Linked DNA regions of Homo sapiens: region 2 is linked to region 1. Evidence: promoter capture Hi-C in 16 types of primary human blood cells and fetal thymus (Javierre and others, 2016). All regions are on one chromosome and are shown on one strand. The core of a region is centred on a gene start or on the middle of the fragment in contact, and the rest is flanking DNA. Distances in the headings are between cores, read along the strand shown. Region 1 holds the start of CPA1 (carboxypeptidase A1). Region 2 has its middle 5.8 kb from the start of TSGA13.

Region 1 (4,930 bases), core at 2,431-4,930:
CAGCAGTGTGAACATGGACCAAAACAGGTGCCTTTCTGCATTTTACATAAAGGCTCTGATAGGCTAGAATTGGTCCCCTTTTCTGAAAATACAAACACTTTAAAAGCTTAATAGGTGCATCAATTAGAATGCTTTTTTCAACAACAGAAACTCCAACTAACAAAAAAGAAATGTATATTCTTTCATATATATATGACCTATATATATATATAGACCTAAACATATACATAAACATATATATATACATATATAGTCTGAAGGTGAGGCAACAGACCTGACAGTATCCAGAAAAAGGTGCCCTCTTTTGGGGAGTGGGGCAACCTTTTCTAGAAGCTTCCTCACGGGCCTCCTCTCATGTCTGATTGGTAAAGCTGGGTCATGTGCCCACCTTTAAACCAGTGACTTGCAAAAGCCAATGAGATCTCTTCAATTGTCTTAGACCAGTCAGAATTTGTCCCTGAGCTGGCAATGGCAGTGTTTCTGGGGGCGGATGCCGACATACAATCTGGTTTATTTAGCAGGGAAGAAACAGGGAGGGATGCTGTGGGCCACAGTCAGCGTGGCTGCTGCAGGCCTCCCACTGTTTGCGTTCTGGCACTTGCCCGTGACTCATTCTTGAATCTAGATCCCAGCCTGGTGGCTTCTTTCTCATGGTGATAGGTCCTGGTGCTATACTTACCCAGCCCTCGGCCCAGTGGCCTCCATGTTTGCCCTTGCCTTGCTTGGACCAATGTGAAACCATCACATGGAGTGGGAAGGCCCTCTGACCTAGGTTACATTCCAGCAAATTGGCCTTTACCAAGAGGTACATTTTTGGCTTCCTGAGGTGGCCGGGAGGGGCCCGAAGCATGAGGCTTAGCCCGCACCTGAGACCCAAATTCCTCTGCCATGATGCTGCCCACTTTCTGCTGAACTTGTAGCATCGAATTCATCCTTTCCAGCCTTGCAAAAAAATATATTATATGACTCTTGGGCATCGTAAATTGCTGGCTGGAGGTACAAGAGGCTCCCTTGGTGAGTCTGCACCCTCTCCCCCAGGCCGCCCTCTTTTTCAGAGGTGTCGTCTTTTCTGGAAGGAATTCACAGAAGGCCCAAGAACCAGCCAACATCCCCCAACATGTGTAGTGTGAGCAAAAGAGATTCAAAATTATAGGACAGCTTCATATTTAGGAATAGAAAAAGAAATATTGTTTTTATAATGCAAACTAAATAAAGACCCTACAAAACCTTCCTTCCCCATGGGGAGCAGGGTAGAGAAGCCCGAGGACTCTGTGGGGCACCAGGAAATGAGGAGTAGGGAAGACATGGCTCCTGGCCTGGGGTAATTTAATTTTTTTTTAATGTTTTAATTTCCTTTTTAACTTTTTAGAGAGATGGGATCTCACTCTGTTGCCCAGCCTGGGGCAATCATGGCTAACTGCAGCCTTGGACTCCCAGGCTCAAGAGATCCTCCCGTCCCAGCCTCCCAAGTAGCTGGGACTACAGGCGCCACCACGCCCAGCTAAGGAAGTTTACAGTCTCCATGGAGAGACAAAAATAACATTTTAGGAGCAACGAAGAAGAAATCAATGTAAGTTTGTGTTCAAGCACTAAATAGCGTGATGAACACCCTTCCCCACCTGGCAAAATCCTATCATAAGACCTAAGTTAAGCTGGGCTCAAGCCTATAATCCCAACCAACACTTTGGGAGGCCAAGGTGGGAGGGTTGCATGAGCCCAGGAGTTCAAGACCAGCCTGAGCAACATAGTGAGACTCCATCTCTACAATAAAAATTTTAAAATTAGCCAAGTGTGGTGGTGCACACCTATAGTCTCAGCTACTCGGGAGGCTGAGGTGGGAGGACCGCTTAAGCCCAGGAGGTTGAGCCTACAGTGAGCCATGATGGTGCCACTGCTCTCCACAGCCTGGGTGACAGAGCAAGAACTTGTCTTAAAAAAAAAAAAAAGGCCTAGGTCAAATGTCACCTTCTTGGTAAAGTCTTCCCTGGACTTTGTGCCATAGTGTGTGTCCTTTTAGCCCTCATGGTACTTTTCATACCACATCACATCCCTGTTTAGGTCTCTTGCAGGGAGGAGAACAGTCCCCAAAAGTCCTTTGCACGTCTAATCCCTTATTGGTGACAGCTTCTTGGAGGACCTGTTAGAGGACCAACAAGTTAGTTGGTTACTTCTGTCTTCCCGCCTAGACCGTGAGCTCCCTGAGGTCAGCGAACATCTGTATTGGGTGTCGTGTCCATGTGGAGCACAGTACTTGGCCCAGAAGAATAAGTATTGATTGAATACATCGACAAAGGGGTGAGCATTTAGAGAAGGAGCAGACAGGTGAGCCAGGAAGCAGCCAGAAGAAGCTCCAGGGAGCACTGCAGCCCTGCCAGAGGCGGGTGGGGCCAGCAAGGCTGTACAGGGGAGAGCAGGAGCTGCCGCATAGGCTCCACATCTGTTAAAAGCGGGTTTAGGGCTTTCTCACCTTCCTAGAGTTAGGTTTGGGAGATAGTTGTGGATAAATATAAGGGGGTCACTCTGTCTTGGTGTGGGAGGGTTGGCCAGCTAGGGGGTAGGGTAGGAGGCAGTGGGAGTGAATAGAAACTAGAACGGGCACTATGGCTCTCACCAGTGCCCAAGGTCGGGGTCCTGACACAGAGCAGAGCCTCTAGATGGTGCTGGGAAAGCCCTGGGGGGCCCGTGAATGAGGATGGATTTGTGGGATTTGTGATGGATTTGTCTCTAGGGTGAGATCAGCATCCAGAACCCAGTGAATTCCCCTGTGTGGGTTCCAGTTTCTCCTGGACACTGTGCAGTCCTCACAGGGGTCTGGCCCTGGCTCCCCCCGCCACACTTGCTATTCAGACGACATCTGGTTACTGTTCCCATGAAGGGCAACCCCGACCTCGGGGCCCTGTACTGGTGGGGGTGGAGGGAAATGCTGGCAAGGGTTGGGCTCCTGACCCTGCTGCTGCTGCCCGGGCTGGACTCCCACAGGACCCTAAGGCCAGCAGGAGGGGGCTGGGAAGTCCCACAGAGGGACTGCCCCGCACAGGGCCGGGGCAGCCTGGACAAAGCCGGTGTGGTGACAGGCCAAACCGACGCAAAAGGTTAGTCCACCCTGCTGGTCTCTCCAAGGCATCAGGGTCCGTGGGAGGAGGAGGTGTCCGGCACTCCGCAGGTATCTGTGCTTCACACAGGTCTAATGGGGGAGAGCCTGGGCCTGCCTGAAGCTGCCTTGGGGACAAGAGAGGGCAGAAGCCCCACTTGCTCGATCACCGGAATGAAAGGCTGGCACTCAGGAGCACGGAACAAGGAGACGCCTGGAATGAGGCCCCAGCAGGAGTGGCTGCTTGGAGTCCTGGCTCCTTCTCCGCTACCCAGTGGGCAAACAGAACCGCAGCTTTAGGGTGTGGGCAGGCAGAGTCCTGGCTGGGACTCCAGGAGGCCTCGAGCCCCCGCTGACCCTCAGGCCCCGCTGGCCCCAGATGGTCGGGGGTGGAGCTCTGGCTTATCTCTCCAGCTGCCCAGTTCCCTGCCACTTTATCATGGAGGGTGAGAGGGTGTCAGAGCTCAGAACTCCCACCCCAGCCTCCCCGTGGGACAGGACCCAGGTGCTGGGGGAGAACAGACCTCGGGAGCAGCCAGGAGTCCTCGGTCCTGGGAGGGTTTAAAAGCCAGGGGGCCGTCTCGACCTCAGTCTGACCTTCCCTCCCGGCAGCAGCATGCGGGGGTTGCTGGTGTTGAGTGTCCTGTTGGGGGCTGTCTTTGGCAAGGAGGACTTTGTGGGGTAGGGATGTGGAGAGGAGGGGGTGCCCTCTGAGGGTGATGGGGAGGACTCAGCCCCCAACCAGTAGAGGAGACAGACAGACAGATACATGGCAACACAGCCAGAGAGGATGGCCTGGCACCACCTGGGACAGCTGGCAGATAAGCAACCAGGGTTGGGAAGAGGTTGTGTCTCCCAAGACAGTCTCCTGAGCCCTGGAGAAACCTGAGCTCTGAGGAGGAGTTTTCAGGAGAGGAGAAAGGAGGAGGCCTGGCTGGCTTGGAACAGAGAAATAGTCCAAACTGGGATTGAGATAGTAACAGCGTCTAGAAGTTTCTAAAGATGGGGAGAGAAGAGGTGAGGGAGCCCAGGCCTCTCCTTGTTGAGACCCTTGGTGCTGTCCCCTGCCCAGCCCAGAGGACGAGGCCCAGTCTGGGGATTCTGGGCTGCTGCCTCCCTCCTGCACCTGGGGAGTGCTTGTGGCCAGGGCAGGTGCAGCTTGGGTGCTCACTCCCCACTCCCACTCTGCCCAGGCATCAGGTGCTCCGAATCTCTGTAGCCGATGAGGCCCAGGTACAGAAGGTGAAGGAGCTGGAGGACCTGGAGCACCTGCAGGTCAGAAGAGGGGAGAAGGGCTCTCTGAGGCCCCAGGGTATCAGCTGGGGCCACCCCAGGTCCCCAGCGGCCAACTGTGCCTGGGCTGTCTCCACCCAACAAGGAGACATGGAATTGACTCTGTTAGGAAGCGACTTCAAGCCCCCAGCTCCAGAGCCTTGCTGCCCTTGAGCACCTGGGCAAGGGGCCGGGCCCCTTTCCAGTTCCTCCCTCTGCCTTGCTGTCTCAAAGGCCCCTCACTCTGCTCCTGGGCCATTTCCCTGACCACACTGGACTCTCCAGTCCCCAGGGTTTCCCCGTATTTCTCTGGCCCTATTACCCCTGACCTATCCCCAATTATATGAGAACTTCTGGCACCAACAGCCCCTCCCACGCAGGCCCTGTCCCTGCCTGCTGTCCTGGCTGGTGCCCCCAGCCCGCTGTGACCGTGCCGGCTCTTGTCCTCCCCAGCTGGACTTCTGGCGGGGGCCTGCCCACCCTGGCTCCCCCATCGACGTCCGAGTGCCCTTCCCCAGCATCCAGGCGGTCAAGATCTTTCTGGAGTCCCACGGCATCAGCTATGAG
Region 2 (4,442 bases), core at 318-2,817, 310 kb after region 1:
CTGAGAGATGTGACCTCAGGAGCAAAGAGCAGGAGGAAGGGCACAAGATGGGAGGAACTGTTTTTTTGAACAGTTTTGTCCTCTTTTCTCATTTCTAACTGTTTATAAAATAGAAACGGCTACCTTTATGGAAGTATTGGTATGGAAAGTAAGGAAGTGTGGAAAGAAGCATCTACCCTTCATGAAAAAAGGTAGTGGCACAGAATGCCAAGCAAGGGTAGTTTGCCCCATTTTTGTCTTCTTTCATTCTTTCTTTTTCTTTCTTTCTTTCTTCTTCTTTCTTTCTTTCTTTCTTTCTTTCTTTCTTTCTTTCTTTCCTTCTTTCTTTCTTTCTTTCTTTCTTTCTTTCTTTCCTTCTCTCTCTCTCTCTCTCTCTCTCTCTCTCTCTCTCTCTCTCTCTTTCTTTCTGTCTTTCTTTCTTGCATTTTCAGACAGGGTCTCATTCTGTTACCCAGGCTGAAGTGCAGTGGCATCATCATAGGTCACTGCAGCTTCAAACTCCTGGGCTCAGGCACCCACCCACCTCAGCCTCCTGAGTAGCTGGGACTACAGGCATGCACCACCATGCCCAGCTTTTTTTTTTTTTTTTTTAAAGAGACATGGTCTCACTGTGTTGCCCAGGCTGGTCTTGAAATCCTGGCCTCAAACAATCTTCCTCTCTCAGCCTCCCAAAGTGCTGGGATTACAGGCATGAGCTACTATACCTAGCCACTCTTCCTTCCTTCTTTCCTTTCTCTCCTTCCTTCCTTCCTTCTTTCCTTCCTTCTTTCTTTCCTTTTTTTTTTTTTTTTTTTTTTTTGATGGAGTCTTGCTGTGTCACCCAGGCTGGAGTGCAGTGGCATGATCTCGGCTCACTGCAAGCTCCACCTCCTGGGTTCACACCATTCTCCTGTCTCAGCCTCCCAAGTAGCTGGGACTACAGGCACCCACTACCACGCCTGGCTAATTTTTTGTATTTTTTTAGTAGAGGTAGGGTTTCACCGTGTTAGCCAGGATGGTCTCGATCTCCTGACCTCGTGATCTGCCCTCGGCCTCCCAAAGTCCTGGTATTATAGGCGTGAGCCACTGTGCCCGGCCCACTCTTTCTTTCTTAAACAGCCTGCTGGTGACACATGAAGCTCTTGCTTTCTTGAGGAGAGGCCTATCATTTATCAGTGGCTGGGTAAATCTTTCCAGTTCAGGGGGATGTTTTAGGAAGCCCAATGTATGTTCAGGCCCCAGCCAGTCTCCAAACCAACTTCTAGCAGAAAGCTGATATTCTGAACTTACCAGATTTTTGCATGTGTTTACTAACTGCTTCAGAACCGGTAAGGGAAAGAGATGTAATTGGCACCTCAAATATTACTTTTGCACCAACCTAAATCAACATCCTGACTACAGTGAATGCTACAACTGTTATTTTACATAGTCTACATAGACTCAGATACCAGAGAATATGTAAGTAGGAATTTGAGAAAGTTATCTCCCCAGCAAAGCAAAAAATGAAAGCCAGATAGAAACTGGGGACTGGGCAGGGAGGTTTGCCTAGCAACCTGCCCTCCATCTCTGGTAAGAAAGCAGGAGCAGAGTTTATAAATTCATTAATCTCATGTATTGACCAACACCAAGACTCAACAAAGCTAGCATTATTCAGAGATGAATGAATGGAAAATGATTTTTAGGGCTAATGCATTTTATGAGGAGTAGAATATAGCAGCAGCAATAGCTGCTCTGGCAAGAATAGGGAGCTAAGAAGCTGCCAGAAGTGGAGGAATACAGAGAAGAGCAGGAGGCTGGGAATCTGGGAATTAGGAATCAAGGCCATCCAATTTTTCTGTAGATTTGTCTATTAAAAATGTGGGGAAATCTACTTACGAAAGTGGAAGCTGTCTCTCCACTCAGTACTTACATTCAATTTAGCACTGGAGTGTCAGGAAAATGGGGACCAAAGGAGAAACAAAACTGGGTGGGGGGGAAATGAGGTTTTAAATGTACAAGATGGACAGCAAGGGATAGAAGGTGGTCTCAGGAAAAACTCTGGGACTGAAGATGCCCAACATGGCAAATTTCTGAATGTTTCCAACATGGCGGGATGATACATGAAGGAGCAGTGGATATGCATCCCCATTCAGACATTCTCTGCCGACAGCAGTGAGAAATCCCATGTCTTCTCCTCCTCTTTTTTTTTAACTTTTATTTTAAGTTCAGGGGTACATGTGCAGGATGTGCAGGCTTGTTACATAGGTAAACATGTGTCATGGAGGTTTGTTGTACAGATTATTTCATCACCCAGATATTAAGCCTAGTATCCATTAGTTATTTTTCCTGATCCTCTCCCTTCTCCCACCTTCCACCCTCTGATAGGCCCCAGTGTGTGTTGTTTCCCTCTGTGTGTCCATGTGTTTTTATCATTTAGCTCCCACTCATAAGTGAGAACATACTGTTTTTGGTTTCCTGTTTCTGTGTTAGTTTCCTAAGGATGATGGCCTCCAGCCTCATCTATTTCCCTGCAAAGGACATGATCCCATTCTTTTTCATGACTGCATAATATTCCATGGTGTATATGTACCACATTTTCTTTATCCAGTCTATCACTGATGGGCATTTAGGTGGATTCCATGTCTTTGCTATTATGAATAGTGCCACAATGAACATGTATGTGCATGTGTCTTTATAATAGAACGATTTATATTCCTTTGGGTATATACCTGGTAATGACATTGCTGGATCAAATGGTATTTCTGTCTTTAGGTCTTTGAGGACAGTGTATAAGCATTCCTTTTTCTCCACAATCTTGCCAGAATCTGTTATTTTGTGACTTTTTAGTAATAACCATTCTGACTGGTGTGAGATGATATCTCATTGTGGTTTTAATTTGCATTTATCTAATGCTAAGTGATGTTGAATTTAGTAAACAGACAACCTACAGAATGGGAGAAAATTTTTGCAAACTGAAAATTATGCATCTGACAAAGGCATAATACCCAGAATCTATAAGGAACTTAATATACAAGAAAAAACAAACAATCCCATTAGCTGGGCATGGTGGTGCGTGCCTGTAATCTCAGCTACTCGGGAGGCTGAGGCAGGAGAATCGCTTGAACCAGGGAGTCGGAAGCTGTGAGCCGAGACTGCGCCAGTGCACTCCAGCCTGGCAACAGAGCAACAGAGCGAGATTCCATCTCAAAAAAAAAAAAGGGTGGACAAAGGACATGAACAGACACTTCACAAAAGAAAACATACACATGGCCAACAATCATATGAAAAAAAAAGTAGCAAATTCTTAGCTTTTAAGTTCAAGTATCAAGGACTCAATTGTAAGACAGACTGATTTAGGAAAATAGATATGATCAATTCAGATGCCTCTGTCTAACAAAGAAGACAGTTTGTTAGTATTACAGGTTTCTACCCTGATAGGGGAGATGTAGTGTCACAACTGAGTCACAACTGAATGTCATAATTGAGTCTACCCACAAAAGGTGGACCCCAGCAACTACCACTAATTTATTGGCATCTTGAAGCTTCTCCCCAACCTCATACTTTTTCTTTAAATTTTTTATCTTTAATTCTTGTGGGTACATAGTAGGCATATGTATTTATGAAGTACATGAAATGTTTTGATACAGGCATGCAAAGCATAGTAAGTAATCACATCATGGGGAATGGGGTATCCACCCCCTCAAGCACTTATCCTTTGTGTTACAAACAATCTAATTATATTATTAGTTATTTAAAAATGTACAATTAAGTTATTAGTGACTATAGTCACCCTGTTGTGCTAGCAAACAGAAGGTCTTATTCATTCTTTCTAACGTTTTTGTACCCATCATCCTCACATTTTTAAAATTTTCTTGGTCCTTCTAGTTTTTCCAAATAACTCCAGACTCTGCATGGTGTGATAGCCAGCAATAACAATACAGGATCATACATAATCATACTACCCTGTATATCTTCCCATATATTAAAATTTCACACCAAGCTATACATTGAATTATAACACTGGCCAAAACTTTAAACACATCAATATCAGTAGAGTTAGGGTGATGGGGATTAGGGGTGAGAAGGAAGCTCTTCAGGAAGTCTCTTCTGTCTCACTCTCCCACTTTGCTTTCTCTCAAGAAGGAAATTCTTATCACTATTTGGGCTTTGGTTCTTTGGGGGAAGTCTGTATATATTAAAAGTTCATATAAATCGGTTTGGCTTGCTCCTCTATTCAGGCTCTTGCCCTCCACTCTCTTCATTCTCCTTTCTTGCATGTGTCAGCCCAATCGAGAAATTCAGGTTTGAATTCAGAGTGGAGATGGGCCCGCTGGACTCTGTACTTTTTGTGAGTAGCCTCCTCTGACAGCTATTCACCTACTGTCTCTCAGCTTTAAGCCCCCCATTCTAATCTCCACTCTGAGATGCAAACTACATTTCCTACAGCCTCTGGCCAATGCACTTCCTGTTAGGTTCTGACAAAA

Evidence for each region. The method cuts DNA at HindIII sites, captures the fragments that hold promoters and counts their contacts. A CHiCAGO score of 5 or more calls a contact.
Region 2: a contact is called between a fragment that was not itself captured here and the fragment with the promoter of CPA1 in region 1, in 1 of 17 cell types (endothelial precursors). The highest score is 5.7, in endothelial precursors.

The regions. Positions count from the first base shown.
Region 1 is chr7:130,376,814-130,381,743 of GRCh38, forward strand. It overlaps CPA1 (carboxypeptidase A1), which reads left to right and starts at 3,681. Exons shown (of 10, transcript NM_001868.4): 1 at 3,681-3,772; 2 at 4,285-4,366; 3 at 4,817-4,930. The coding sequence starts at 3,708. RefSeq lists an enhancer at 3,288-3,809. The HindIII fragment of the contact is 6,032 bases long and covers 332-4,930 here.
Region 2 is chr7:130,690,082-130,694,523 of GRCh38, forward strand. No RefSeq gene overlaps it. Among named protein-coding and RNA genes, the nearest start is that of TSGA13, 5.8 kb to the left of the region's middle. The HindIII fragment of the contact is 3,861 bases long and covers 1-3,498 here.